Regions from separate parts of the Homo sapiens genome. Here all the other regions are linked to region 4. The links are contacts of gene promoters, found by promoter capture Hi-C in blood cells and fetal thymus (Javierre and others, 2016). All regions are on one chromosome and are shown on one strand. The core of a region is centred on a gene start or on the middle of the fragment in contact, and the rest is flanking DNA. Distances in the headings are between cores, read along the strand shown.

The links. The method cuts DNA at HindIII sites, captures the fragments that hold promoters and counts their contacts. A CHiCAGO score of 5 or more calls a contact.
Region 1: a fragment that was not itself captured here is called in contact with the fragment with the promoter of PLXNC1 in region 4 in 1 of 17 cell types (M2 macrophages); the score reaches 5.2 in M2 macrophages.
Region 2: a contact is called between a fragment that was not itself captured here and the fragment with the promoter of PLXNC1 in region 4, in 1 of 17 cell types (neutrophils). The highest score is 5.5, in neutrophils.
Region 3: a contact is called between the fragment with the promoter of NR2C1 here and the fragment with the promoter of PLXNC1 in region 4, in 4 of 17 cell types (naive CD4 T cells, total CD4 T cells, total CD8 T cells and 1 more). The highest score is 9.3, in naive CD4 T cells.
Region 5: a fragment that was not itself captured here is called in contact with the fragment with the promoter of PLXNC1 in region 4 in 1 of 17 cell types (neutrophils); the score reaches 5.2 in neutrophils.
Region 6: a contact is called between a fragment that was not itself captured here and the fragment with the promoter of PLXNC1 in region 4, in 1 of 17 cell types (naive CD4 T cells). The highest score is 7.4, in naive CD4 T cells.

What each region holds. Positions count from the first base shown.
Region 1 is chr12:93,491,951-93,496,602 of GRCh38, forward strand. The region is part of intron 5 of MRPL42 (mitochondrial ribosomal protein L42); the gene reads left to right. Among named protein-coding and RNA genes, the nearest start is that of MRPL42, 27 kb to the left of the region's middle. The HindIII fragment of the contact is 3,980 bases long and covers 1-3,561 here.
Region 2 is chr12:94,687,241-94,691,726 of GRCh38, forward strand. No RefSeq gene overlaps it. Among named protein-coding and RNA genes, the nearest start is that of TMCC3, 39 kb to the left of the region's middle. RefSeq lists an enhancer at 1,853-2,092. The HindIII fragment of the contact is 3,111 bases long and covers 1-3,081 here.
Region 3 is chr12:95,072,211-95,076,504 of GRCh38, forward strand. It overlaps NR2C1 (nuclear receptor subfamily 2 group C member 1), which reads right to left and starts at 1,408. Exons shown (of 14, transcript NM_003297.4): 1 at 1,170-1,408. RefSeq lists a silencer at 826-1,105 and enhancers at 995-1,495, 1,186-1,505. The HindIII fragment of the contact is 1,017 bases long and covers 835-1,851 here.
Region 4 is chr12:94,145,931-94,150,096 of GRCh38, forward strand. PLXNC1 (plexin C1) reads left to right here and starts at 2,647. Exons shown (of 31, transcript NM_005761.3): 1 at 2,647-4,103. The coding sequence starts at 3,042. RefSeq lists silencers at 2,414-2,543, 2,554-2,803, 2,874-3,103, 3,234-3,473, 4,134-4,166 and an enhancer at 3,674-3,773. The HindIII fragment of the contact is 5,941 bases long and covers 1-4,166 here.
Region 5 is chr12:94,660,418-94,664,758 of GRCh38, forward strand. No RefSeq gene overlaps it. Among named protein-coding and RNA genes, the nearest start is that of TMCC3, 12 kb to the left of the region's middle. The HindIII fragment of the contact is 6,489 bases long and covers 1-4,341 here.
Region 6 is chr12:94,986,351-94,991,059 of GRCh38, forward strand. The region is part of intron 3 of NDUFA12 (NADH:ubiquinone oxidoreductase subunit A12); the gene reads right to left. Among named protein-coding and RNA genes, the nearest start is that of NDUFA12, 15 kb to the right of the region's middle. RefSeq lists an enhancer at 3,011-3,522. The HindIII fragment of the contact is 397 bases long and covers 2,785-3,181 here.

The DNA.
Region 1 (4,652 bases), core at 322-2,821, 660 kb before region 4:
TTCTTTTTTTATGTCTGTATAGTATTCCATGGTGTATGTGTACCACATTTTCTTTATCCAGTTCACCATTGACAGGCACCTGGATTGATTCCATGTCTTTGCTGTTGTGAGTAGTGCTACAGTGAACATACAATTACATGTGTCTTTTTGGTGGAACAGTTTCTATTCCTTTGGGTATTTACCTAGTAATGGGATTGGTGGGTCGAATGGGAGTTCTGTTTTTAGTTCTTTGAGAAATCTCCAAATTGCTTTCCACAGTGGCTGAACTAATTTACATTCCCACCAATAGTATGTAAGCATTTGCTTTTCTTTGCAGCCTTGCCAACATTTATTATTTTTATCTATTTTTAATAATAGCCATTCTAACTAGTATCAGCTGGTATCACACTGTGATTTTTTTAAATTTGCATTTCTCTGATGATTAGTGATGTTGAGCATTTTTTCATATGTTTGTTGGCTGCTTGTATGTCTTCTTTTGAGAAGTGTCTGTTCATGTTCCCTAGCCCACTTTTTAATGGAATTACTTATTTTTGCTTGTTGATTTAAGTTCCTTACAGATTCTGGTTCTAGAAGGGGTTTGGGAAGTCATTAACCTCTTGAAATTATTTGTAAAAATTTTGAATAGGTGTTTTTCTGGGCAGTGGATTCAAAACTTTTATCAGACTCTCAATGAAGTATGAGACCTTCAGAATGCTAAGAACTGTCCATTAAAAGTGTCATTCAGCATACACTGTTCAATTATATTTACTACTCAAGACTGAAAATGTTTGAGACTCTGATAGCCCTAAACTGAACAAAGTCAAGTTCTAAAATATGCTCAATAAATGTCAAATAGCATTTACACATATCTTATCATGCATGAATTTTAATGTGCACTACAATCACTAGCCAAAAGCAAGCACCTTAATTTTACGATGACCTTATTCTATCATCCAGATTGGGAACCTTGCAGACACTATTAATTAATACAAGAGTTAAATTGAGATTGCTCCTGGCAAACCAAGTTATATTGTTACACTTCTTAGATTACACAATGACTCAGTGACATCTGGAACACTGGTCTACAGCTCTTAACCCAGAAAACTTTACCTCCTGGTTCATACTAAGCTAGGTAATCAAATCTGTTTCCTACTGATGGAAGTAGCTAATTTTTGTTGTCTCCATGGGAAAATATTAAAGTAGTTTCTTAAATAAAGTGGTACTATTATTCATGCATTTGTAAGATTGCCCTATATTTCAGAAATTTAGAATTATTTTCTCCTGCCTGCCTGCCTGCCTGCCTCCCTCCCCCGACCCCCTCTCTTTTTCTCTCCTCCTTTCTTTCTTAGAGTCACGGTCTTGCTCTAACACCCAGGATGGAGTGTAATGACACAATCATAGCTCACTGCACCCTCAAGCTCCTGGGCTCAAGTGATCCTCCCATCTCAGTCTTCTGAGTAGGTAGGACTACAGGCATGCACCACCATGCCCAGCTAATTTTTAAAAATCGTGGGGGCTGGGCACAGTGGCTCATCCCTGTAATTCCAGCACTCTGGTAGGCCAAGGTGGGCAGATCAGTTGAGCCCAGGAGTTCGAGACCAGCCTGGGCAACATGGTGAAACCACATCTCTACAAAAAATTTAAAAAGTAGCCAGGCATGGTGGTATGCATCTGTAGTCCCAGCTACTCAGGAGGCTGAGGCAGGAGAATCTCTTGAACCTGGGAGGCGAAGGTTGTAGTGAGCCGAGATCAGGTCACTGCATTCCAGTTTGGGTGACAGGGCAAGACCCTGTCTCAAAAAAAAAAAAAAAAAAAAAAAAAGTTATTATGAGAATCAGAATCATTTATCCATTTTAAAATGTGTGAGCACCTACTATGTGTAGATCCTAATGATTCTGTAGTACACAAAACAAGATAAAAATCCCGACTTTCATGGATCTTACATTCCAATACAGGAGATAGGAAAATAAGATGAATAAGCTGGTCAGGGAAGCCTTCATTGAGTAAAAACCTGAAGGAAGTAAGAGAGCTAGCTTTACTGATACTGTGAGAAAGAGTGTTCTATGCAGACAAACAGCAAGTATAAAAGCCCTGAGATGGAAGGAAGGACATGTTCAAAAGCAAAAAAGAGGCCATGTAGCCAGAATACATGAACAAGGAAAAGACAGTAGGGCATGAGAGCAGAGAGGTAATGCAGGACCAAATCATGTAGGTAGTTGTAGGCCTAGAGTGTTTCTGAGTGAGATAGGAAGCTGTTTGAGGATTTTCAACAGAAAAATTACAAGAACCAAGGGAAGTGTTAACAGTAGGTTACTCTGGCTGCTACGCTACAAACAGACTGCAGCAAAGCAAAGGAAGCAGCTGGGAGACCAGTTAGGAAGTTATTTCAACAAAACAGGCAAGAATGATGATTTGGACTAGGATAGCGGCAGAGGGAATGGTGACAAATGGTCAAATCTAGATACATTTTGGAGATAGAGCTAACAAGATTCGCTAATAGACCAGATGTTGGGTATGAGACAGAGAGAGGAGTCAAGAGTGGTACCAAGGTTTTTGGCCCAAGCACCTAGAAGAATAGAACTGGCATTAACTGAGAGAGCAGGCTGCAGGAGAAGCTGGTTTGTGGAGGACCATCAGAAGCACAGTTAGACACATACCAAGTTAAGGATACCTACTACACATGTCAAGTAGGCAGTTGGATATGTAAGTCTAGAGGTCAAGGGACAGGTCTTGACCACAGATGGATTTGGAAGTCATCATCACACAGATGGTATTTAATGCCATGGGACTGGACGAGATTCCTGTCCTAGAGAATGGAACAGAAAAGTGGAGCAGTCCAAGGACTGATTCTTGGGGCACTCCAAAATCTAGAGACAAGGGAGATGAAAGGGAAGCACCAAGATAAATCAAGATAGTATATTAACTTTAGATATGTAAAAAGAATTTCAACCGTTACTAAGGTCGAATTAATGAGAAAAGTAACAGACACACCATCAGGAACTCTAGAGATATAGTGATACAGGGGTCCCCAGAGAAACTCCGACCAGCTTGTGCACTGGGAAAATGGGGTGGAGCTTCGTGAAGTTCACGCTGTTTGCAGGGAAAAGGAGCCTGGCCTCTGTGATCTGGTGTGGTAACCTGGGGATTCAATCTGTGAGATGTGGGCCTGTTAACAGGAACCTCTCTTGCTTTGCTGAGTTTTTTCCTTTTCACCCAATAAACCCTGTCCTTCCTCACCCTTCAAATTGTCTGTGAGCCTAATTTTTTGTGGTTGTGTGTCTTTAGCTGACCTAAGAAAAAAGTCCTACAATAATAATATTGCTCAAATGATGTGTTCTAGGAAGATTATATTAGAAGGAATACTTTATGACTTGATTTTTTTTCATGTCAACTAAGGAAGACTAAAGACTCAGCCTCCTAAGTAGCTGGGACTACAGAAGCATACTACCATACCTGGCTGATTTTTTTGTTGTTGTTTGTATTTTTTGGAGAGATAGGGTTTGCCATGTTGCCCATGCTGGTCTCCAACTGCTGGGCTCAAGCAATCTGTCCACCTTGGCCTCCCAAAGTGCTGGGATTACAAGCTTGTAATCCTGGCCCACACATTTAATAGTAAACACTTCAGATTTTCAGACATGAGATAATCTAATCAACGATACTTATTAGCCACTGGCCTATTCAGCATTGATTCTTTAGAGTCATACAACTTACACTCCCAGTTCACCCACCTTGGGTGAGGCCAATAATTAGACTCAGGTAGCTTCAAGACTGAATGAAGTGGGGCAACACTTCTGGATCATTAAGGATCTGCTGACCTTGATTAAGAATCTGATAATGAGGAACATCTTAACCCACCTGTGACCCACCTAGATAAAATGGATAAACCCATGTAACCTGGTAGCTGAACTCTGGAAATAAAACTTCCAAGAATCACTGGGAAATTTACCAGTGCATCCTCAAAACTTCCATAAAGTATGGTTTCAAAGAGGAACTGAACACCTTAAAGAAGCTGTGAAGACAATTAGGTGAGATAGTATTCCATCAGACAATCATTTAATACCCATACATTGTATTAAGGATACTGTGTTAGAATTATTGTGGAAAATTACACAACAGATGTTTGGGTTTTTTGTTTTTGTTTTTGTTTGACACGGAGTCTTGCTTTGTCACCTAGGCTGGAGCGCAGTTGCACAATCTCAGCTAACTGCAGCCACCACCTCCTGAGTTCAAGCAATTCTCCTGCCTCAGCCTCCCGAGTACCTGGGATTACAGGCAGTTACCACAACACCCGGCTAATTTTTGTATTTTTAGTAAAGGCAGGGTTTCGCCATGTTGGCCAGGCTGGTCTTGAACTCCTGACCTCAAGCGATCCACCCACCTCGGGCTCCCAAAGTGCTAAGATTACAAGCATGAGCCACCACGCCCAGACAACATCCTTAACAAAGAGAAAATACTCCAGAGAAGATTTAACCAAAAAAAGTCACCTAAAAATGTAAATATAACATTAATAGATACCTAATAAACTATAATTATATGCAGTTGTGCTAAGAGGGACAGTAGATATTCAAAGTGAATATAAAAAAGTAAAATGTCATGAAGAAAGTAAGATAAGAGCAAATAGCAGAGGAAGAGTAAAAGTGCTGAAAACTGAGGGATAAAGCATTTGAAATAGC
Region 2 (4,486 bases), core at 276-2,775, 540 kb after region 4:
AACAACCCTTTAGCTATTGCTAATTACAAATCTGTGTATCTGGGCACATAAGGACTCTCTATACCGGCTTTGGAAATTTTTAGAAACACATTTCCTGGAAGAACCTGAGAGGTTGGATCTGGCCAAAAAAATATAATACAGTCTGTGGCAGGATGCATTGTACTTAACCATATTCAAGGACAGAAAGGCATTTGCTTTATCTGGGATATCCTGTGAAAACACATTAAGAACACCCAGGGAAACATCGTCAGCAGGGATATTATTTGTGGTCATCGTTGTTTTTAACGTGTGTTTTTTCCTTAGTAAATCCTAGACAAAGTAATTTGAACCTTGTAAAAGAGTACTGCAGGCCAACCTGGGCAACATAGCAAGATTACGTCTCTAAATACAAAATAAATAAATAAATTACAAGCAAGAGGCGGTAGAATTTTTAAACTGAGTTCATTGGTGAGGATCTTGGATGGAGTTCAAGGGAAAACAGTGAAAAGGAGATGAAACACTGTCCCTAATCCCACCGTCTTGATAGAACTACTCTGAGAACTTTGGTGCCTTTTTTGTGTTACTTTTCTTCTAAGTATTCCTTGTATATACTTGTAACTGGGAAGTGACAAAGTTCTAAGAGATCCTGGCAAGAACTGCCACCCCCAACTCATCACCACAACACTATCCTTCCCTTCCCCACTCCCTTCCAACACACATACATTCTCAGCCTTCAAAACCAACAAGATCAATCCCATCATGATTTGTTTTTAAAACTTTTTTTAGAGTCAGAGTCTTGGTATGTTGCCCAGGCTGGTTTCAAACTCCTGGGCTCAAACGATCCTCCTCCTCTAGCCTCCCAGTTGCTGGGATTACAGGCATTTTAAATTCACGACCAGAAACTAGGACTGCCAATTGGCAATCCTACCACATTCCCTGGTCGATTTACTCTGCCGCGCTGCTAGATGGTTAATTCATACTCCTCTTTCCTCAAACTTCCGACACCTCTCCTCCTCCTCCATCTTCACTCTTGGCTCATGATCTTGTTTTCTACTTCTCTGAAAAGTAATTGAAGCAATCAGGAGAGAATTTCCACACATTCCCTCTACCACATCTATTCCCACCTGCTCCTGTGCCCATATATACTCTGCCTCCCTCCTGCTGCCATGGATGAACTGTCTGTGACCCTGAGGCCAACCCCTTTCCTCATCTTTCGCAGTCCGAGCCCCCTTCCCTACTTAGGAGCCCTGCACCAGCAATTCTGCCCTCTTTCCTGCATTGTCATATTTCTCTCTCCATGCATCACTTCCAATAGCATACAAACACGCTGGTATTCCCCTACCCTTAAATATCCCTCTCTTGACCCCGTTAACCTCTGTCAAAACTAAGTCAAATCTGGTCATTCCTGTTTGAAACCCCCTAATGGCTCTCGTCTCACTTAGAGAAAAGTCAAAATCCTACAAGACCCTATATAGTCAGAGCCCATCTACTTACTACTCCACCACCTGTGTTCCCTGTTCCTAGAACACACACCGGGCCTCCTCCTTGCTCAAGGCCTTCGTATCTGCTGTTTCCTGAAAGGCTCTCTGAGTATCTGAATGTTCATTCCCTCACTTCACATCTTCACTCAAATGCCATCTTTTCAGAGAGGCTTTCTTTGGCCTCCCTACACAAAATAACCACCACACTCCCTCATATTACCCATCTCTCTTCCCTGCTTTATTTTTCTTCTTAGCACTTCACGCTTTCTAACCTACCATACCAACCTTACTTGTTAGGTTTATTGACTGTTCCCCCCATTTGAATATAAGCCCCATGACAGCAAAAAAAAATTTTTGTCTGTTGTGTTTGCTGCCAAACATATTCTCTAGCTAGCACTGCAGTGCCTGGTACATAGGAGGTGCTCAATAAAAGACACAGACATAATGTAGGTCATCTTAAAGTTTGCACAGTCATGCTCATTTATGATTCTTCTGCAGCCTCTGCTTAGAGTTCTCTGAATCAAACCCATGGACCTCGTCTTACCATGGTCTACTGTGTACATGTCTTTTTGTCTTTCAAATAAAATCTGACTGTAGAACGAGAAAAGCGAAGGACCTGGAGTGCCTTCAGCAATGCACTGAGTCTCTTTCCTCGCTTTCATTTTGGTTTCTACTAAGTTTGGTATGGAGAGAGGAAGCATTTGTGTCTATCTTGGAGAGAGAGCAGAGAAGATCTTGCAGGGGGTTTCAGCATGAGTATTTGGCAACAGAAAGGATGATTCAGAGCTTGAACGTGAAACTCATACAGAGGCTTAGGGGAAAAAAAATAGGAGCTAGAAAGAGAAGGGAGAATCAGTCCTATCGCCTGAGAATATGGTTCTCTGGATCAGAAAGACACTGTGGCCCAAAGCAGATTCCAAAGATGAAAGGAGAAGCGGCATTCCACACCAGGAATAAATGTTTTAGCCTTGGTTAAAAGTAAACATAAAAGCAAATCACCACAGGATTAAGATTTCAAAACAATAAGGAGGCAGTGAGCTCTAGAGTCAGAAAGACCTCGCTCTAAGTCCAGCTTCCACCACCTCGGAGCGCTGGGACGCAGTTCTCAGGGTTGCAGAGGATTTCAATGCAAGCCTGGAGCACTGTCTGGCAAACGGTGGGGCCTCAAGGGATGTTAGTTCCTTCCCCCGCTACAGCCTCCACTGCATCCCCACAGCCCCGCACCACGTAAGACACATAGCAGATGCTCAAGAAATACTAGTTTGATGAACGGATGGGTAACACAAGAGGAATCAGTTCCCAAATCAAGCTGCTTCTGCCCTCACACCAGACTTCATAGAATTCACTTGCTTTTTTATCACTTTCCTGCATCCCCTTGCCCTCTGCCTCACCCACTCCCAAAACCATCTTCACGTTTGTTGTTTGTGTTCCCACTCCACAATGGAGCCGGCGTCAGCTACGTCAATCCTCGAGCTGCCAAACGTTCATTTCCATTTAAAAACATCGTGTTTTAGCAGAGAAACGTGGACTAGGGAGGCACGGTGCAGACACCAGCCTCCATCTATTACTCCAGGCTGACAGATTTTTTTTAGCAGAGTCTTGTTTTTCTCCTCTGAAGGAAAGCTTGTTTCCATAGAAGGATTTCCCCTCTTTGTGTTCTTGCTTCATTCACAGTTTTAGTGTTTACTTTTGCTTTTTATCTTTGCATAATCCTTGCTGTTTTAAGAATCTGAGGAGACTCTGGACTATAGTCCCTCACCCTCCCCTGTAAATATCTCTGGTTCATGCCAATAGTGGCTGACACATTTCCCCAGTTTTCCTTCACATCTTTGTCGTGTGAAAAAATGCTGGTAAATCATGTGGACAAGCCTCAGATGACTTGGTATTTGTTCATGGGACATTTTTCAAATCCTTCTGCCAAGATTTTGTGCAATAATCAGTTTGTTTTAATGCAGTTCATGGAGAGAGGGTTCCAGTTCTGCACTGGCTGTGCAACCACCAACCTTTCTGTAAGTCCACCAAGGGTCTGGAGGCGGAGGGCCTCAATGCTTGGAAGGCCAGGAGGCCCACTGCTCAGGGAACAGGTGTGCTCATGGAAGTAAGTGGCTGGCCTCCAGGACTAGCTCATAAGCAATGGGGAAACTAGGGTTGGGAACTGTTTGGTGGAGCAGCAAAAAAAGTGATGCCATCGGGGCAACCCCAGCGTGAGTGAGGGCAGGGGACTCTTCTTGTCTTGTTCACAATGTCCCCAGCACCTACCTGTGTGCACAGCTCAGGACTGGTATTCTGTAAATATTTGTGGAATGAATAAATGAACAAATGAGGTAGAAAGACAGGGTACCACGAGAATCCTCTTGAATAAAATGGAGAGTTTTGAAAGGGATTAAATTGCTATTGTCATGTTTAATTTTACTGGAAAATATTTGTAATTCTACTGAAACACCAGGTTGGTGTGGTCTAGAGAAAAAAAATACTAGACACCATTTTTTTTCCATATAAGACAAACCAAAGCAAGGAACTTCATTTTTTAAAATTTATTATTTTTTTTTATTTTAAATGTTTTTTTTCTGGGTACATAGTAGGTGTATATATTTATGGGGTACATGAGATGCTTTGATACAGGCATGCAATGTGAAATAAACACATCATGGAGAATGGAGCATCCATCCCCTCAAGCATTTATCCTTTAAGTTACAAACAATCCAATCACATTCTTTAAGTTATTTTAAAAATATACAATTAAATTATTATCGACTATAGTCACCCTATTGTGCTATCAAATAGTAGGTCTCATTCCTTCTATTTTTTTTTGTATCCATTAACAATCCCAACCTCCCCGCCAACCCTCACTACCCTTCCCAGCCTCTGGTAACCATCCTGTTACTCTCTATGTCTATGAGTTCAATTGATTTGATTTTTCGATCCCACAAAATAGGGGACTTTAGGCAAAAAAATAATTGATGCCTAGTATGTGCCAAATATGGTGTAAATAGGAGGTGAGAAACCAAGATAACTTGTGTATATAA
Region 3 (4,294 bases), core at 158-2,657, 930 kb after region 4:
GAGGTCAGAGTATCAAGACCATCCTGGCCAACATAGTGAAACCCCACCTCTACTAAAAATACAAAAAACAAAAACAAAAACAAAAACAAAAAAACTAGCTGGGTGTGGTGGCTCGTGTCTGTAATCCCAGCTACTCGGGAGGCTGAGACAGGAGAATCGCTTGAACCTGGAGGCGGAGGTTGCAGTGAGCCGAGATCGCGCCACCGCACTCCAGCTTGGCGACAGTGAGACTCCCTCTCCCTCTCAAAAAAAAAAAAAAAAAAAGAAAAAAAAATCGAGTATCACCAACCACACAGCAGAAATGGTTCAAAAAAGCTCAAAATCGAAGGTCCATTTACAAATTCTAGCGGTACTAAACCCTAAAGGCCGTAATTTTAGGTCTTTCTGCTTTTGCTTTCCGGTTACTTTTTTAAAGGCTGACCTACTTACTGAAGATTATGGGACAACCTGGCAACATTCGTACTGCACAAAAATGGTATCTGCCCGAGTTGGAAGAATTATTTCTTAACAAAAGAGCTATCTATCGGAAGCTTGGACATGCCCCCTGCAGTGAGAACCCTGGGGCCGTTCCATTTCTTCTGAAAAGATCCAGGCCCACAGGCAGCGACGACCCTGGCCAGATTTGCCGTGAGAGAAAAGTGAAAGTGGGGGGAGTCATTCTGTCCGTCCCGTGAAAGCACGGGAGTTAGTGACGGGATGCAGGCCGGGACTTGCGGCCACTAGCCGAGGGTCGGCCTCTCCCACGTCTCACTCGTGCCGGCGTTAGCCGTGCGCCCTGGAAGCCCCGGCGCTGCGCGCGGCTCTCCCGGGCGGGGAAAGCTGCAGCGCCGCGGAAGCTTTCCCTGCAGGTTAAAGGTCAGAGGCGCTGCGGTAAGCGCAGCTGGAAAGGGGGTTGTGTGCTCCAAGCCGCTCGCCGTCCGGCCCCGCGTCCCGCCGCCCCTGTCGCCCCCGCCTCTCCCGGGGCCCCGCGCATTTGGCGCCGCAGCTCCGCGCTCCCAGCCGAAGTCGAGCAGCCCCAAGCGGCGCTCCCAAACTGAACGGCTCCGCTGGCCGCAGGACGCCGGCCGGGGGATGCGCTGGGACCGCGTCCGTTGGCGGTTGGGGTGAAGGGCACCCCCTGGCCCCCGCCCCCGACGCGGTCGCTGGTGTCCCCACCCAGCGTTTCTTACCGGCGCTTTTGCGCCCTGCTGACTCCGGCGTCGGGCGCCGACGCGACAGTCCCGCGGCTGCCACTCGTGGATTGGGGGGCGCTCCGGGAAGAGAGGTTGAAGAAAGCCGACGGGATGTGGGATCGAGATTCACGGCGGAGAGAGCTTTCTGTGTTTGGGTATTTCTGGGGGGTCAGAGTTCGTGACCTCTTTCTCGGCTCGGCGGCGCGCTATCCCGCCAGCGCCTGCGCATTAGCAACGGGGAGAAGCGGCGAGAGGAGGTCGTGACGTTCCCAGGGTGGGGTGGAGGGATCGGAGGGCCGAGCAGCGGCTCTGTGAGTCCACTGCCCCCTTTTGGCTTGGAGGCAGAGTGCCCCGCCAGAGCTACGCGTTCCCAGCCAGGTAATTTTTGAAGCCACGTGCAAAGGTTTAAGCATCGTTTGCCAAAGGTGGGCATTAGGGGAGGTTTTGAGTCAACGTTTTAGATTTGAGTAATAAATAACCCTCTGGGTCTTAGGCATATCTGTTTCTAATTTCTGGAAAACTGGGCTCTGGGGTAGAGTCCAATCATATTTAAACTTTTTTTTTTTTGTATTACACTTTAAGTTCTAGAGTACATGTACACAACGTGCAGGTTCGTTACATATGTATACATGTGCCATGTTGGTGTGCTGCACCCATTAACTCGTCATTTACATTAGTAAGCTTTATATATAATGACAAGCTGAGGCCGACTCATGCAAATGGTAAGGCAAAGTTTCACTTATAAACTGTTGTGAGTAAAGAGACATAATGGCTAAACAGGGCAAGAATATAATCACTAGAGACTGGGCACGGTAGCTCACGCCTGTAATCCCAGCAAGTTGGGAGGCCGAGGCGGACGGATCACTTGAGCCCGGTTGTTTGAGGCCAGCCTGGCCAACATGGCGAAAACCCGTCTCTACAAAAAAATTAGCCAGTCCTGGTGGCGCGTGCCTGTCGTCCCAATTACTTGGAGGCTGAGGTGGGAGGATCACCTGAGTCAAGACGGCAGTGAGCCAAGATCACACCACCGCACTCCAGCCTGGGTGACACAATGAGTCTTTCTCTCTCTCTCTATATATACACACACACATATATATGTATATTCCACATCCTCTCTATAATATATATATTATTATATATTGAGGATTATCCTCAATGGCCGTTTTTTGTCTGTTTTGCTCAGTGATGTATTACCAAGCACATAGGACAATGCCTGCTATTCAATAATGATGTATGAAATGAAAGCCAGGCAAGTGGCTGCTGGGAGGCCAAGGAAAGATCACTTGGGGCCAGCAGTTGGAGACCGGCTTGGGCAAGATAACAAAACCCTGCCTCCACAAAAAAAATTTTTCAAATTGTGAAATGAAGAGACATTGGTGGAACATCGCATTCTGACAGTGGCCACCTGTAGTGGCAAGGTGTGGCAGGAATAACTGCCCTGTGTGCAAAGTACTCTGCGCTTTAGATTTTGAAGCATTCTTGAAATTTCTAGTTTTTTTTTAAATCTCCTTTGTTTTGTCATGAAATTTCTATTTTATCTAGCTTAGGTCGGCACTGTAGGAAAGCAGCCACAAACTCAGGGCAGAAATCCAAGGAAGGAAAAACAAACGTTTGCTGGGAATGAGAACATCTCTGTTATTTCTCTCTGGAACTAGGCAGACGGACAGAGATCAAGGCATGAAACAATCCCTAACAAGTAAAAATATGCTTTATCCCTCATTAAAAATCCACCTCTGCTGAGCACAGTGGCTTCTGCCCCCAGAGCCTTGGGAGGCTGAGGTAGGAGGCTTGCTTGATGCCAGGAGTTTGAGACCAGCCTGGGCAACATAGTGAGACTCCATCTCTTAAAAAAAAAAGAAAAAAAAAAGGCATGGTGGTGCAGGCCTGTATTCCTAGTTACTGAGGAGGCTGAGGTGGGAGGATTGCTTAAGCCCAGGAGTCTGGTCCAGTGTTGGCACCATTGCATTCCAGCCTGGGCGAGAGTGAAACTTTTTTTTTTTTCCAACCTCTACCTTTTAGCATTATTTGTTGTGTATTTGGTTTGGTTTTAAGGGAGACCCCTGCCAATACCATAAGCTGGTCCCAAAGGTGAAAATTATGAAAGTATAGTCACGTCAGGGATATGTTCTGAGAAATGAGTCCTTAGGCAATTTCATTTTACTCTCATCATAGAGCGTACTTATACAAACCTAGATGGTCTAGCCTAGACACACCTAGGCTGTATGTTGTAGTCTGTTGCTCTTAAGTCACAAACCTAGGACAAACCCGTACAGCATGTTACTGAATACTGTAGGCAGTTGTAACATAATGGTAGGTATTTGTGTATCTAAATATATATAAACATAGAAAAAGTAAACTAAGTCCTTTTAAAAAAAAAGTGCAGTAAAAATAGGGGATTATAATCTTATGCAACCATTATTGTATATGTGGTCTGTCCTTGACTGAAATATTGTTATGCAGTGCATGACTGCACTATAGGCCTAATGGATACAGGCAATCTGAGACCTCTTCACTATTCTTGGTGGAGAATATGTATGCCTATAGTGATGCTTGTGGTTACCCCTTATCACCCAATTAATTCACTTAAGTCACAATAAGTTGACTTGTTAAAACTTGGAAGTAGAAGCCATTTTAGGAACATCATTTGTAGGTGAAGAAGCGTTTCCATTAATTATGCTTCAGGAAAAGAGGTAAATGAAGTTTATTTATTTTTGAGACAGAGTCTCACTCTGTTGCCCAGGCTGGAGTGCAGTGGCTTGATCTCAGCTCACTGCAACCTCCGCCACCTGGGTTCAAGAGGTTCTTGTGCCTCAGCCTCCCGAGTAGCTGGGATTACAGGCGCACACCACAATGTCTGGCTAAGCTTTTTGTATTTTTAGTAGAGACAGGGTTTCACCATGTTGGCCAGGCTGGTCTCGAACTCCTCACCTCAAGTGATCCGCTCGCCTTGGCCTCCCCAAAGTGCTGGGATTACAGGCATGAGCCACCGTGCCCAGCCGAAGTTCATCTTTAAATGTGTGACTCTAGCCGAAGTTCATCTTTAAATCTATGATGCTGGCCAGGCTCAGTAGCTCACGCCTGTAATCCTAGCACTTGGGGAGGTTGAGGCGGGTGGATCACCT
Region 4 (4,166 bases), core at 1,397-3,896:
GCTTCCTCGTCGCCTACGTTTTTCATGCCAAAAAGTTAGCACAGATTCTGATTTCTTTCACCGTAGGAGTCTGCATACAATTAAATGGGAGGCAAAAGAAGCCCACTCTTAAGAGTGGGGCTTATGGTCCCAGTAGAATGGCAGGGAACTGTAGCCATCAAAGCCATTTATACTTCTTGTGGGTAGTATTTTTAAGATGTTGTTTCTTTTTCAAAATGAAGCAGCAATGAACTGAGTAGTGATCAAAATGCCGCACCACAGAGTATGTTTAATCCAAATAGCTCCCAAGATGGTCTGTGACTGATTGTACCAACTCTACGGGACTTAGAGAAATGACTTGGTTACCAGTGAAGTAAAACTATCTCTGGAATGGAATTGAACTGTTGCTTCTCAGCACATAGCGACACTGCCACCGCTGGTTCACGGAGCCAGTGAAGGTCACTGAGTTCTGCATCAGTCACAGGGAAAACTGTCAAAACACCAGCGCATAAATCCCCTACTATGCTGTGGAGGGGGTCTCTGAGCTTCGGATGAGGTTTTTAAAATATTGATCTTCCCACTTCCAGAGGTGCAAAAATTCTGAAAGCATTCCAGGAGGGCAGGGAGTGGGGGAGCAAGGCCAGATATTTTGGAGCAGGTGAAACATCTGACTTGTCTTGCCTGAGATGTCCCGATTAACACCAACTGGGTACTTTAGGCCTTTCCCCTTCTTCCTCCCCTCTCCTTATGGACACTCCAACACCATCATCACAGCACAAAGGGCAACCTCATATCTCGTGGGAAGGCATTTTCTGCCTCCTGCCAGGCAAAGATAATGTTATCCAATTGCAAATGAAAGGCTTATGAATGAAAAGATGACCACTCTGACTTTAGTGTATGAGAGCCACTGCTGAAATGATAGGATCCTTGAACTTCACATCTAGAGCAGAAACTCACACTTCTCTTCTTCTCCCTCCACCTCACCCTTCTTTCCTTAAGCCTTCCAGAACTCCTGCCATATCCCTCAGCACTGGGGAGAACTTGAAGCACTGTTGGAGAAGTTTGAAACCTGCAACCTTCGGCAGGACTCAGCATGGGACAAAAGCCACCTCATTCCTTTCCCTTCCCAAAACAGCATCTCGAGCTGGGGAACTTGGAGGGAAGGAAGAAAGGGGATAGCAGCCAATTGCCCTCCCTGGGGCCTGGGGTCTGGAAATAGCCTGGGAAGGAACAGAGATCATTTCCCAACGATCCATAGAGGTCCTCAGCACCCTCCACTCCTATGCACCCCCTGGCTCATCTGCCAGACTGTAAGGGTGCTGATGGTGCCCGCAGCTGCCCCGGGAAGCTGGGAGGCATTTGTGCATCCTCTGGGAAGCCCCATTCCGAGAAATCATGAACCTATTCCCCAGTGGGCAATGATTCCCTGTGCTTCAGAAATTCTTGGCGGCTGTGGGGGCAACCCAGCTGTTATTCACCCTCTGGGTGAGGTGGTGAGACCTCAGGGGGTCCAAAGGATAAAAGTGGGTAATGATGAGACAGATGGAGAGCCTCGAGGGAAATACGGGGACTTGGGTCTAATAGTAGAAAGCAGGGCGGGGGCTGGTTGGTGCATTTAACTTGAGGAACTTTTCAGTCTCACTACAGAGAATGATCTCTGGGGGATTATGGCAATGGCCACAGGTGGCACTTAACTAGAGCCAGGTATGTAAGAGGCCCTGGGGCTAGATATGGATTCGAATCTCGGCTCTGATATCTACCAGCAGTAGAATGCCAGCACGTTCCACAACCTTTCTATAACCATTCTCCTGGACTACTAAGTAGGGATGACAATAACAGTCACTAATTAATAGGGCTGTTATGAGAATTATGAGTCTTAACCCATGTGGTGAGTTCACAAGCGCACCCGGCACGTAGTAAGTGCTCAGTAAATGTTAGCCCCGCTCATTAGGTTAGATGGTGAGCAGAACTTTCCAAGTGCTAGGCTTGAGAGCCTGGGACTCTGTTGCCAAGGGAGATTAGAGAACCTTTGCAAATATGGGCGCTCCGGCCCTGGGGATTGTCCAGAACGAGAGTGTGGCGCCTGCCTTTCTGCCACCTCACTCATCCGACCCGGGGAAACCCACACCCTGTCACAGGGGCGCCTTGGTCCCCGGAGTCTCCGGCTCGGCCATGTCTCCCGCGCGCCTCCCCGGGGCCTCCCTCTCGCCGCTCCACACCTGTCAGCCGCTCTCGCAGCAGCCCTGTGGCCCGAGCCCGGGGCCTCAGCTGCAACCCCTTCGCACCCTGGATCCTCGCTCCGCGCGCCTGGCGTATCCCCGACCCGGCTGCTGTCGTAAACAAAACCGGGCGTTGGAGCAGCACCGCGGGCGGACGGGCGCGGGAGCCCGCTCCGTGCGCCGTTAGCGCGCCCCGGGAGCCCCAGGCGAGCCAAGGGGGCGATGGTGGCGGCCGCGGCGGCCGCGGCGGGCGGCTGAGCTTTGTTATGAATAGATGAAAGAGGCCACCTACACAGTAACCCAAATTACGAGACCTCCCTCCTCCCTATCTCACCGAATCAAGAGGGGAGGGGAGATGGGCGTGGAGGGAGGGCGGGCGGGCGGGCAGGAGGCGGAGGGCGGAGGAGGAAGAGAGGATGAGGAAGGGGGCCAGTTGCATCCCACTTTCACAATGGGAAAGTGAAACGCACAAGCGCACCCAACCTCTCCAGCCCTCCCCGCCCGCCTCGCTCCTCTCCGCCCGTCCCCTCCCTTCCCCTCCGCGCCTCCCCGCGAGCGCCAGCGCTGCACACAGGAACTCTCCGGCGAAGGAGGGCGAGGAGGAAACGGTGCCGGAGCGCGCAGGGCTTGCTGCCGCCACCGCCGCTGCACAGGCTGCCGGAGCGAGCCTGCCGCGCGCCGCCCTCCCCGCTCTCCTTCCTGGGCGAGCTGCGGGGATGGGGCGGCCGCGGGAGCCCGAGCGCGCGCAGGAACCGCCGCCGCCGCCGCCCGCGTCTCCGTTGCCGCGCGCCTGAGCCGCCGTCGCCGCCGCGCGCCCTGCCCGGGGGCGGCCCCCCCAGCCCCATGGAGGTCTCCCGGAGGAAGGCGCCGCCGCGCCCCCCGCGCCCCGCAGCGCCACTGCCCCTGCTCGCCTATCTGCTGGCACTGGCGGCTCCCGGCCGGGGCGCGGACGAGCCCGTGTGGCGGTCGGAGCAAGCCATCGGAGCCATCGCGGCGAGCCAGGAGGACGGCGTGTTTGTGGCGAGCGGCAGCTGCCTGGACCAGCTGGACTACAGCCTGGAGCACAGCCTCTCGCGCCTGTACCGGGACCAAGCGGGCAACTGCACAGAGCCGGTCTCGCTGGCGCCCCCCGCGCGGCCCCGGCCCGGGAGCAGCTTCAGCAAGCTGCTGCTGCCCTACCGCGAGGGGGCGGCCGGCCTCGGGGGGCTGCTGCTCACCGGCTGGACCTTCGACCGGGGCGCCTGCGAGGTGCGGCCCCTGGGCAACCTGAGCCGCAACTCCCTGCGCAACGGCACCGAGGTGGTGTCGTGCCACCCGCAGGGCTCGACGGCCGGCGTGGTGTACCGCGCGGGCCGGAACAACCGCTGGTACCTGGCGGTGGCCGCCACCTACGTGCTGCCTGAGCCGGAGACGGCGAGCCGCTGCAACCCCGCGGCATCCGACCACGACACGGCCATCGCGCTCAAGGACACGGAGGGGCGCAGCCTGGCCACGCAGGAGCTGGGGCGCCTCAAGCTGTGCGAGGGCGCGGGCAGCCTGCACTTCGTGGACGCCTTTCTCTGGAACGGCAGCATCTACTTCCCCTACTACCCCTACAACTACACGAGCGGCGCTGCCACCGGCTGGCCCAGCATGGCGCGCATCGCGCAGAGCACCGAGGTGCTGTTCCAGGGCCAGGCATCCCTCGACTGCGGCCACGGCCACCCCGACGGCCGCCGCCTGCTCCTCTCCTCCAGCCTAGTGGAGGCCCTGGACGTCTGGGCGGGAGTGTTCAGCGCGGCCGCTGGAGAGGGCCAGGAGCGGCGCTCCCCCACCACCACGGCGCTCTGCCTCTTCAGAATGAGTGAGATCCAGGCGCGCGCCAAGAGGGTCAGCTGGGACTTCAAGACGGCCGAGAGCCACTGCGTAAGTCCTGCCCCCGGGGCGCCGCGGAGAGCGCTGCTGCCGGGGAGCCGCCGCCGCCGCCGA
Region 5 (4,341 bases), core at 793-3,292, 510 kb after region 4:
CTGCTCACTTATCAGAATGGCTACAATAAAAACGAGTTATAACACATATTGCTGGCAAGGATGTGGAGAAACTACATAAATCATACATTGCTGGTAGGAATGTAAAATGGTTCAGCCTCTCTGGAAAGCAGTTTGACAGTTTTTTATAAAACTAAAACATGCAAATCTCCCATCTGACCCAGCAACTGCACTCTCAGGCATTTATCCCAGAAAGAAAACATGTTCAAACAGAAACCTATACACAAATATTCATAGCAGCTTTATTCGTAATTGCCAAAACCTGGTAGCAGCACCATGTCCTTCAACATGTGAATGGTTAAACAACTGTGGTACATCCATACCATGGAATATGACTCAACAATAAAAAGGAACAAACTATTTGATATGCATCCTTTTTTTTTTTGAGATGAAGTCTCGCTCTTTCTCCCAGGCTGGGGTGCAGTGGCACAATCTCAGCTCACTGCAACCTCCGCCTCCCAATTCTCCTGCCTCAGCTTCCCAAATAGCTGGGATTGCAGGTGCCTGCCATCACACCCAGCTAATTGTTGTATTTTTAGTAGAGACAGGGTTTCACCATGTTGGCCAGGCTAGTCTCAAACTCCTGACCTCAAGTGATCTGCCCACCTCGGCCTCCCAAAGTGCTGGGATTACAGGCATGAGCCACCGCACCCGGCCCCACTTACATAGCATTCTTGAAATGATAAAACTATAGAAAAGGAGAAGAGATGAGTGGGTACCAGGCTCTAGGAACGGGAGGGGGTAGTTGCAGGAGGGAGGTGGGTGTGTTTATAAAAAGGCAGCACCAAGGATCCTGTGGGGATGGAACTGTTCTGTATCTTGAGAGTGGTGGTGGATAGAATTGCACAGGACTAAATACACACATGCACACACGCAAACAAGTACTGGGGAAATCTGAATGAGATTGATGGATTGCACCAATGTTAATGTGATATTTGTACTGAAGTTTGACAAGATACTACCATGGGAGACACAGATACTACCACTGGGGGACAGGTAAAGTGTACAGAGTTCCTCAGAAGTATTCCTTACAAGTGCATGTGAATCTACAACAATCTCAAAATTAAAAGTTTACTTAAAAATGTGTTTTAAGGCCAGGCATGGTGGCGCACGCCTGTAATCCCACCACTTTGGGAAGCCAAGATGGGCAGATCAGTTGAGGCCAGGAGTTCGAGAACAGCCTGGCCAACATGGCAAAACTTTGTCTCTACTAAAAAGACAAAAACTAGCCAGGCGTGGTGGTGGGTGCCTGTAATCCCAGCTACTCAGGAGTCTGAGGAAGGAGACCTGCTTGAACCCACGAGGTGGAGGTAGCAGTGAGCTGAGATCGTGCCACTGCACACCAGTCTAGGTGACAGAGACTCTGCATCAAAAAAAAAAATTAAATTAAATTTAGATGCAACTGTAGTCATTTTCACAGAAAAAACTGGGTTTTGGGAGGAGGGGAACAACACAAGCAGGAGTGAACTTTTTCTCTGAAGAAGTTGTTCACAGAATATTCTACCAGGTTATGGCCCTTTGCTGCACCAGAGGAGTTGACCAGCTGTGGAAACTGAGGGCAAACAAAGACTGTAGGTGGTGCTCATTAATATGACCACACATGTCAGTACCTGGCCACAGTGCATGCTGTGTCTCAACCACACAAGTTCAGGGCCAACGGCAATGTCCATTATCCTTGGCCCATCAGTGTGGAGCAAAGCACCTGGCACAAAGCAGTGATTCTACAAGGTTTTTATGGAATAAATAATGGATAATTAAGTCCTGATTTGGTTGGAAGAACATATTAACGTTCATAGATTTGGTTCAGGTTCAAAACAATTCATTATATGAGTTGTTTAGTAAAAGGTTACATAGCAAGTTTGAGTAGAGAATTTTGCAAATTCCTTTGAGAGGTGGAGGCGGGCGGATCACTTGAGGTCAGGAGTTTGAGATCAGCCCAGCCAACATGGTGAAACCCTGTCTCTACAAAAACACAAAAATTAGCCAGGCATGGTGGCACACACCTGTAGTCCCAGCACTTTGGAGGGCTGTGGCATGTGGATTACATGGGGCCAGGAGTTTGAGACCAGCCTGGCCAACATGGCAAAACCCTGTATCTACAAAAAATATAAAAATTAGCTGAGTGTAGTGATGCACACCTGTAATCCCAGCTATTTGGGTAGCTCAGGCATGAGAATTGCTTGAACCCTGGAGGCAGAGGTTGCAGTGGGCCGAGATCATGCCACTGCACTCCAGCCTGGGCGACAGAGCGAGACTCTATCTCAAAAAAAAAAAAAAGAAAAGGAAATTTTGCAAATTCATGTGCTTTGCTTTGCTCCATGTTTTATGATTCCTATATTGGTTTGAGTCTTTACTTTATATCATGCACACACAGATTATAATATAAGTGGTTTGCTATTTCTAACCTCTTGACTCTACCACTTGGAAAGAGTTTCACTCTCTGATTATCGTGTATGACTACTGGCTATTTGCTACTGCAGTTTTCCAGAAGTCTACAACAGGGTTAGAAAACAAACATAGATAAAAATGCCTTACTTTTTACTAGGCACGAAATGTTCCATTCAGTTAAACCTGTAACTGGACTTGTGATGCTTGGGTTCCTACTTCACACAACCACAGAGAAAGCAGTTCTCTGGGGATCTCTAGCTGACTCCATTCTATGCACGGCTAGCCCAGGAGAATTGTCTTTCATTAAGCACATACTGAATCTGAAGGATGAGCTAGCTACACTCCAGGAACATATCGTCCGTGAATTCACTTTGCATTTTATCAACTCACTTTGCAGGATAAGGAAAGTGGGAAATGAAACTGCCAGAAAAATCTGATGTGATGTTGTTTTTAAACAGTCCAAGTCACAGTCCTTTCAAAAGAGGATGCTGCTTGCTGAAGCCTTCCTTGTCCACTCCAGTCCACACTGTTATCTCTCTCCCTTCTCTGAATTCTGACAGTATCTGTTGCTTAAATCACTCACATAAACATTCAATTGTAAATGATCTTGTGCTGTTACAGGGAGGCGGTATGGTGTACTGGAGGCAGACTGCTTGGATTCACATCTTGGCGCTGCTCCTTACGAGCTCTAAAGCCTTGGTTCTCACATTCATAAGCTAAGGATAACAATAGTACCCACCTCATACTGTTGTTGAGGATTAAATGATGTAATATATGTAAAGCACTTATAAATAAGAGCTCGATAAATGTCTGCACAAACAAAACAAAACCTAAAGTCTGTCTTCACGTGGTATCTCTTTCTCCTTACCAGTAAGACTTCAGTAAGGATGTATGCTGTTATCCTGGAAAGTGTCCTAGTAAGGTGGAGGATGCATTTTGATGCCGTATGTCATCATCACAAATTTTGTGAATAGGATTAGGATGAAAGTAGGAGCCTGTGGACAAGCTCTGGACCCCGGCCATCCCTCCCTCTCTGCCTCTGCTTGTGCTGTTCCTACCACTGCAGAGTCTGCAAACTTGCACAAGTGACAAGGGCACACTTCCTCCTTTTACACTAACCTCCAGCTCCTTTCATTCCCAAGGCCGTAGCTCCCATGTAGAATACACAGAGTCTTTTTGCTGGTACACTTTGACCAAAATATTCTACTTCTAGGAAGCTATGCTAAAGAAATAATAGGCTGGGTGTGGTGGCTCACGCCTGTAATCCCAGCACTTTGGGAGGCCGAGGCAGGTGGATCACGAGGTCAGGAGTTCAAGACCAGCCTGGCCAAGATGGTATAACCCCGTCTCTACTAAAAATACAGAAAATTAGCCAGGCCTGGTGGCACGCACCTATAACCCAGCTACTCTGGAGGCTGAGGCAGAGAATTGCTTAATACCTGGAGGGGCGGAGGTTGCAGTGAGCCGAGATTGTGCCACTGCTGTCCAGCCTGGCAAACAGGGCAAGACTCTGTCTCAAAAAAAAGAAAAGAAATAATACAGGAAAATACAGAAAAACTTTTACACACAAACATCACACATTTTGTCATTCTGAAAAAATTAAAACAATTCAAAGGATTATTTATTATGAAAAATCATGGACTGATTATATAAATTATGATATATTCATAAAAAATGCAGTGCAGCTATTGACAATTATACTTAGGAAGAATATGTAATCATATGAAGAAATGTTTCTGTAATGATATTATAAAAATTATAACAGGCCGGGCATGGTGGCTCACGCCTGTAATCCCAGCACTTTGGGAGACTGCGGTGGGCGGATCACAAGCTCAGGAGATCGAGACCATCCCAGCTAACATGGTGAAACCCCATCTCTACTAAAAATACAAAAAAATTAGTCGGGCATGGTGGCAGGCACCTGTAGTCCCAGCT
Region 6 (4,709 bases), core at 1,733-4,232, 840 kb after region 4:
TTAGGAGGACTAAGCTTTAGTGCTCTACTGCACAGAATGGTGACTGTAATAAATAATAATTCACTGTATATTTGGAAATTGCTAAAATAATTTTAAGTGTTTTTACCACAAAAAAATGATAAGTATGTGAGGTAATTGATTTACTAATTGGCTTGATTTAATCATTCCACAATGTAAACATGTATCAAAACATCATATTGTACCCCACAAATATATACAATTATTATTTGTCAATTAAAAATAAAATTTTAGCCTGGGCAACACTGTGAGACCCCTATCTCCTAAAAAAAAACCAGCAGGTTGTGGTGATGCACCCCTGTAGTCCCAGCTACTTGGGAGGCTGAGGCAGGAGGATGGCTTAAGCCCAGGAGGTTGAGGCTGGAGTGAGCTGTGAAAGCACCAGTGCACTCAGCCTGGGCGACAGAGTGAGACCCTATCTCAAATAAAATATTTTTAAAAACTGAGAACCCCTCCCCTCTAAAAACCTCCAAAGAACTCCAAATGCAGCTTGAATGGGTTCCAACTAGTCAAATTGAGCCCAATTTGAACAATAAAAGAACCATTTAAAGCAATGGATTATAACCCATTGATTAAAATAGGAGTTGATACAGATACAAATAATGAATTAAAGCTTTGATGAGTAAGGGGATACTTACATAACCTCAAAGTGTCTCCCCACAAAATGCTAATTAATTTCAAAGGGAAAATTAGTAACTTTAGAATGGAGAAAACCGGCAGACCCCTTAATCACGTGATAGAGGTTTTCATTAATAATAGGACAAAAACAAATCAGCTGCTACTTAATAGAGTGCAACAAGAAAAACATGGCTTCAGTGACAGGAATGTCACAGAAGCATAGCCTGAACCTAGTCATGAGGAAACATTCAACAAACTCACTGAGGGACCTTCAACAATATAACTGTCAAGTAATTTTCAAAAGCGTCAAGGTCATGAAAATCACAGAAAAGTTGAGGAACCAATCAAGTGTGAAGGAGACTAAAGAACTTGAGATCCATATGAAATGTGTGATTGGATCTCTCTATAAAGGACACTGTTGGGACAACTGACGAAACCTGAGTGGCTGAAGTTCAGAACACGCTGCTCCAAAATATGCAGCTCTGGCATATGGACTATGCTGAGTTAAAGGCACTTGAACAACAGCAGGCACGGCTGGGTGTGGTGGCTCATGCCTGTAATCTCAGCACTTTGGGAGGCCAAGGTAGGCAGATCACTTGAGGCCAGGAGTTCAAGACCAGCCTGGCCAACATGATGAAACCCCGTCTCTACTTAAAATACAAAAATTCGCCAGGTGTAGTGGCACATGCCTGTAATCCCACCTACTTGGGAGGCTGAGATAGGAGGATCATTTGAGCCCAGGAGGTCGAGGCTGCAGACTGTACCACTGCACTCCAGCCTGGGTGACAGGGCAGGACATTGTCTCAAAAAAAAAAAAAAAAAAAAAAAAAGGTAAAGAAAAACAGCAGGCACAAGAATAATATGGCCTTTTTCTTTCTGAAAGCAGGAGAAAAAATTCCCACATCAAAGATATCCTCCCTATACCAGAAGGAAACTATCATTCTACATCAAGGACAGGAAATTGAGGTCAAGGGAAATCTGCACAAACGTTGTTAAATTAACTTTTATCTTCTTAGTCACTTCTCCACCCAATTAACCTACTCAAGCCCAAGTCCCTTTGTCTTCTCATTTTCAGTGTTCTACTCCTTGTCCAATTCAGTATCTAAGTGTTCAACATGAACTGCATCTTTGGGTCTTCATCCCTTATGAGGGCTCCACATCACGGAACTCTTATATTAAATAAATTTGTATGCTTTTCTCCTGTTAACATGTCTTTAATTCTCAAGCCCAACCAAAAAGCCCTAAGAGGATAAGGGTAAAATTTTGCCTCCCTTTCATAGTGTATCTTTGTTACTTTCCTGATATTTATGGTCATATTGTGGTTATGTAGGACAATGTTCTTGTTTGCAAGACGTACACACTAAAGTATTCAGGAGTGATGGGGCATCAATTTGGCAACTTACTTTTATTAAAATATTAGTAATGATTCTGAAAGTTCGGGATTATTCCAAATGTTAAAAAACTGTAAATCAGATCACACCCTATCTTACCTTCCAGTGACTTCCAAATAAATTCAGACAAAAAGCCGAAGTATGTACCATGGCTTACTGAAAGATTCTCCCTGAGGCCTGAAAGCTTGAAGAGATGAATAACTCCTCCCTTCTCAGGCCCAGTCCCAAGCTTGGGCCAGCAGCGTGGGTCAGCAAGACAGCAGAAGCAGGAAGAGAGCTGGCCGAAAGACACATACCCCCTTGAAGATTGAGGGGCAGGCCGTCCAGGTACTATGTAGCAGTTACATCAGACTGAGACACTTCCTGTTTACAGGAGACTATAAAACCCCTGCCCCATCCTCATTTGGTGCTAACGCCATTTTAGGCATCAGCCCACCTGCACCCAGGCGCTCATTAAAACAGTGTGTTGCTCCACACTGCCATGTTGTCTGCTGATGCACTCTCAGGGTTCGAGCCGATACAAGAACCTTTCATCTTACAACATCTACATGATTTGGGCCCTAGCTATTTCTCCTACCTCGTTTCTTAACATCTTCCCCTCACTCATTCCATTCCAGCCAAACTGGCCATACTGCTGTTCTTTGAACAGACCAAGCAATACATCTCAAACATACAGGCTTTGCACCTGTGGTTCCCTCTGCCTGGAACGCTTTCTCCCCGCTTCTACGTCTTTCCTCAAATGTCACTTTCTCAAAGAAGCTTTCTCTAACTGCTGTATAAAACAGCCACCTGACCCTTCCATTGCTCTTGATTCCCATGAGGCCCAGCTTCATATTATCTTCCTTGCATTTTTCATTACCACAATTATATAAAGGATGTTTTTCTGCCTTCCCCTATGAAAACAAGGACCTTGTTTTATTCACTGCTTTACCCCAGGTTCTTGGCACCTGGTAGGTACTAAATAGTTATTTGAATAGGGATGATAAATTGTATCTGTACAATTACTCTCTACACGTGATAATACCTAGCTCTCTAATTAGAGATATATCAACCCAACATCAAATTTATTCATGAATCAAAGGTAAGAATCCACAGATTTAGAATTCCACAGTGTGTCACGGTCAACAAAGAGGGGTTTGAGAAACAAACAGCTAAGCTTGTTCAACACCATTTCTCCCTAAAAAGATTCATCACAAGCCGTGAAGCTTCCCATACAAATAAGGGTCATCAAAGGTACTCAGACCTTAGGAGGCTCCTCTCCACAAAGAAATGCAGCTTTGAATCCTCACTTGCCCTTAGGCACCTGCTGGAGTGATCTTCTACAGCTCTTAGCTTCATTTTCATGTGGTCTCAGATCAAATAAAAGGACTTGCTCCACTGAATAGAACTTTTAGCTTTTCAGGTTTTTACTATTTTATAATTTTAAACATAATTAATCGCACATAATTGAAATCACACCCCTACCCCTCATCTCCCAAAATGTGGCCCCTGAGCACCAATGTTAGATGAACATTTTGAAGCAGGTAGATGTCAATCTGAATAAGACAGCTCACATGCCTTCTATAGCCTCCCAGGACCAATTCCACCCAAGAAACAATCTCTCAGTTAAACAAAAACCAGGACACCTCAGCTCCTAAAGCCTGAATTCCATGTTGACACCTTGGTCTCAAATAGTCCTCCTAACATATAGAATGCCCCTTTGGAGAAGGTTGATGGTTCTAAACCTAAAACCAAAGCTCAATGCATGCTGGGCTTAATACCTAGGTGATAGGATGATCTGTGCAGCAAACCATCATGGCACATGTTTACCTATGTCAACCTGCACATCCTGCACATGTACCCTGGAGCTTAGAATAAAAGTTGAAGGAAAAAAATAAAGAGACATAGAATGTGGAAAAAAAAAAAACAAAAAAACCCCACAGCTCCTCAGACCTTAACGGAACCACAGGTTGTTATTTCCCACTAAAAAGAGTGCAACAGCAATCCCCAAATGATGTAGCATGAGAAAGCTCCTAATCAGTGCTGCTTTCTCACGGTAAGAACCAAAGAGCTTTTTTTATTCAGAGACAGGGTTTCACTCTGTCACCCACGCTGGAGTACAGTGGTGCAATCATACCTCCTTGCAACCTCAAACCCCTGGGCTGAAGGGATCCTCCCACCTCAGCCTCCCAAGTAGCTGGAACTACAGGCATGTACAACCATGCCTGGCTAATTTTCTAAAACTTTTTTTATTTATAGAGATGAGGCCTTGTTATGTTGCCCAGGCTGGTCTCAAACTTCTGGCCTCAAGCGAGCCTCATGCCTCAGCCTTCCAAAGTGCTGGGACTACAGGTATGAGCCACCACACCAAGCCCCAGTGAGCTTTTAAAGATATTATCCATTATCATATTCTTCAAATTACATCACTGACACAGTCAGTGCTCACAATTAGTCCAAGTAGTAGAACAGGGGTTGAAATCTGGTTATAGCTCAGCAAAAATGTACAGTACAAATATGTTTTGCTTAGCTCACAGTATTTGAAAAACAAACAAACTATTCTGTCCAATCGAGTAGCCTACTTATCTTAAATAAAAATTTTAAAATGTCCTCAGTTGCATTATCCACATTTTAAAGTGCTCTAGAAAGGCCAGGTGTGGTGGCTCATGCCTCTAATCCCAGTATTTTGGGAGGCAGAGGTTGGCG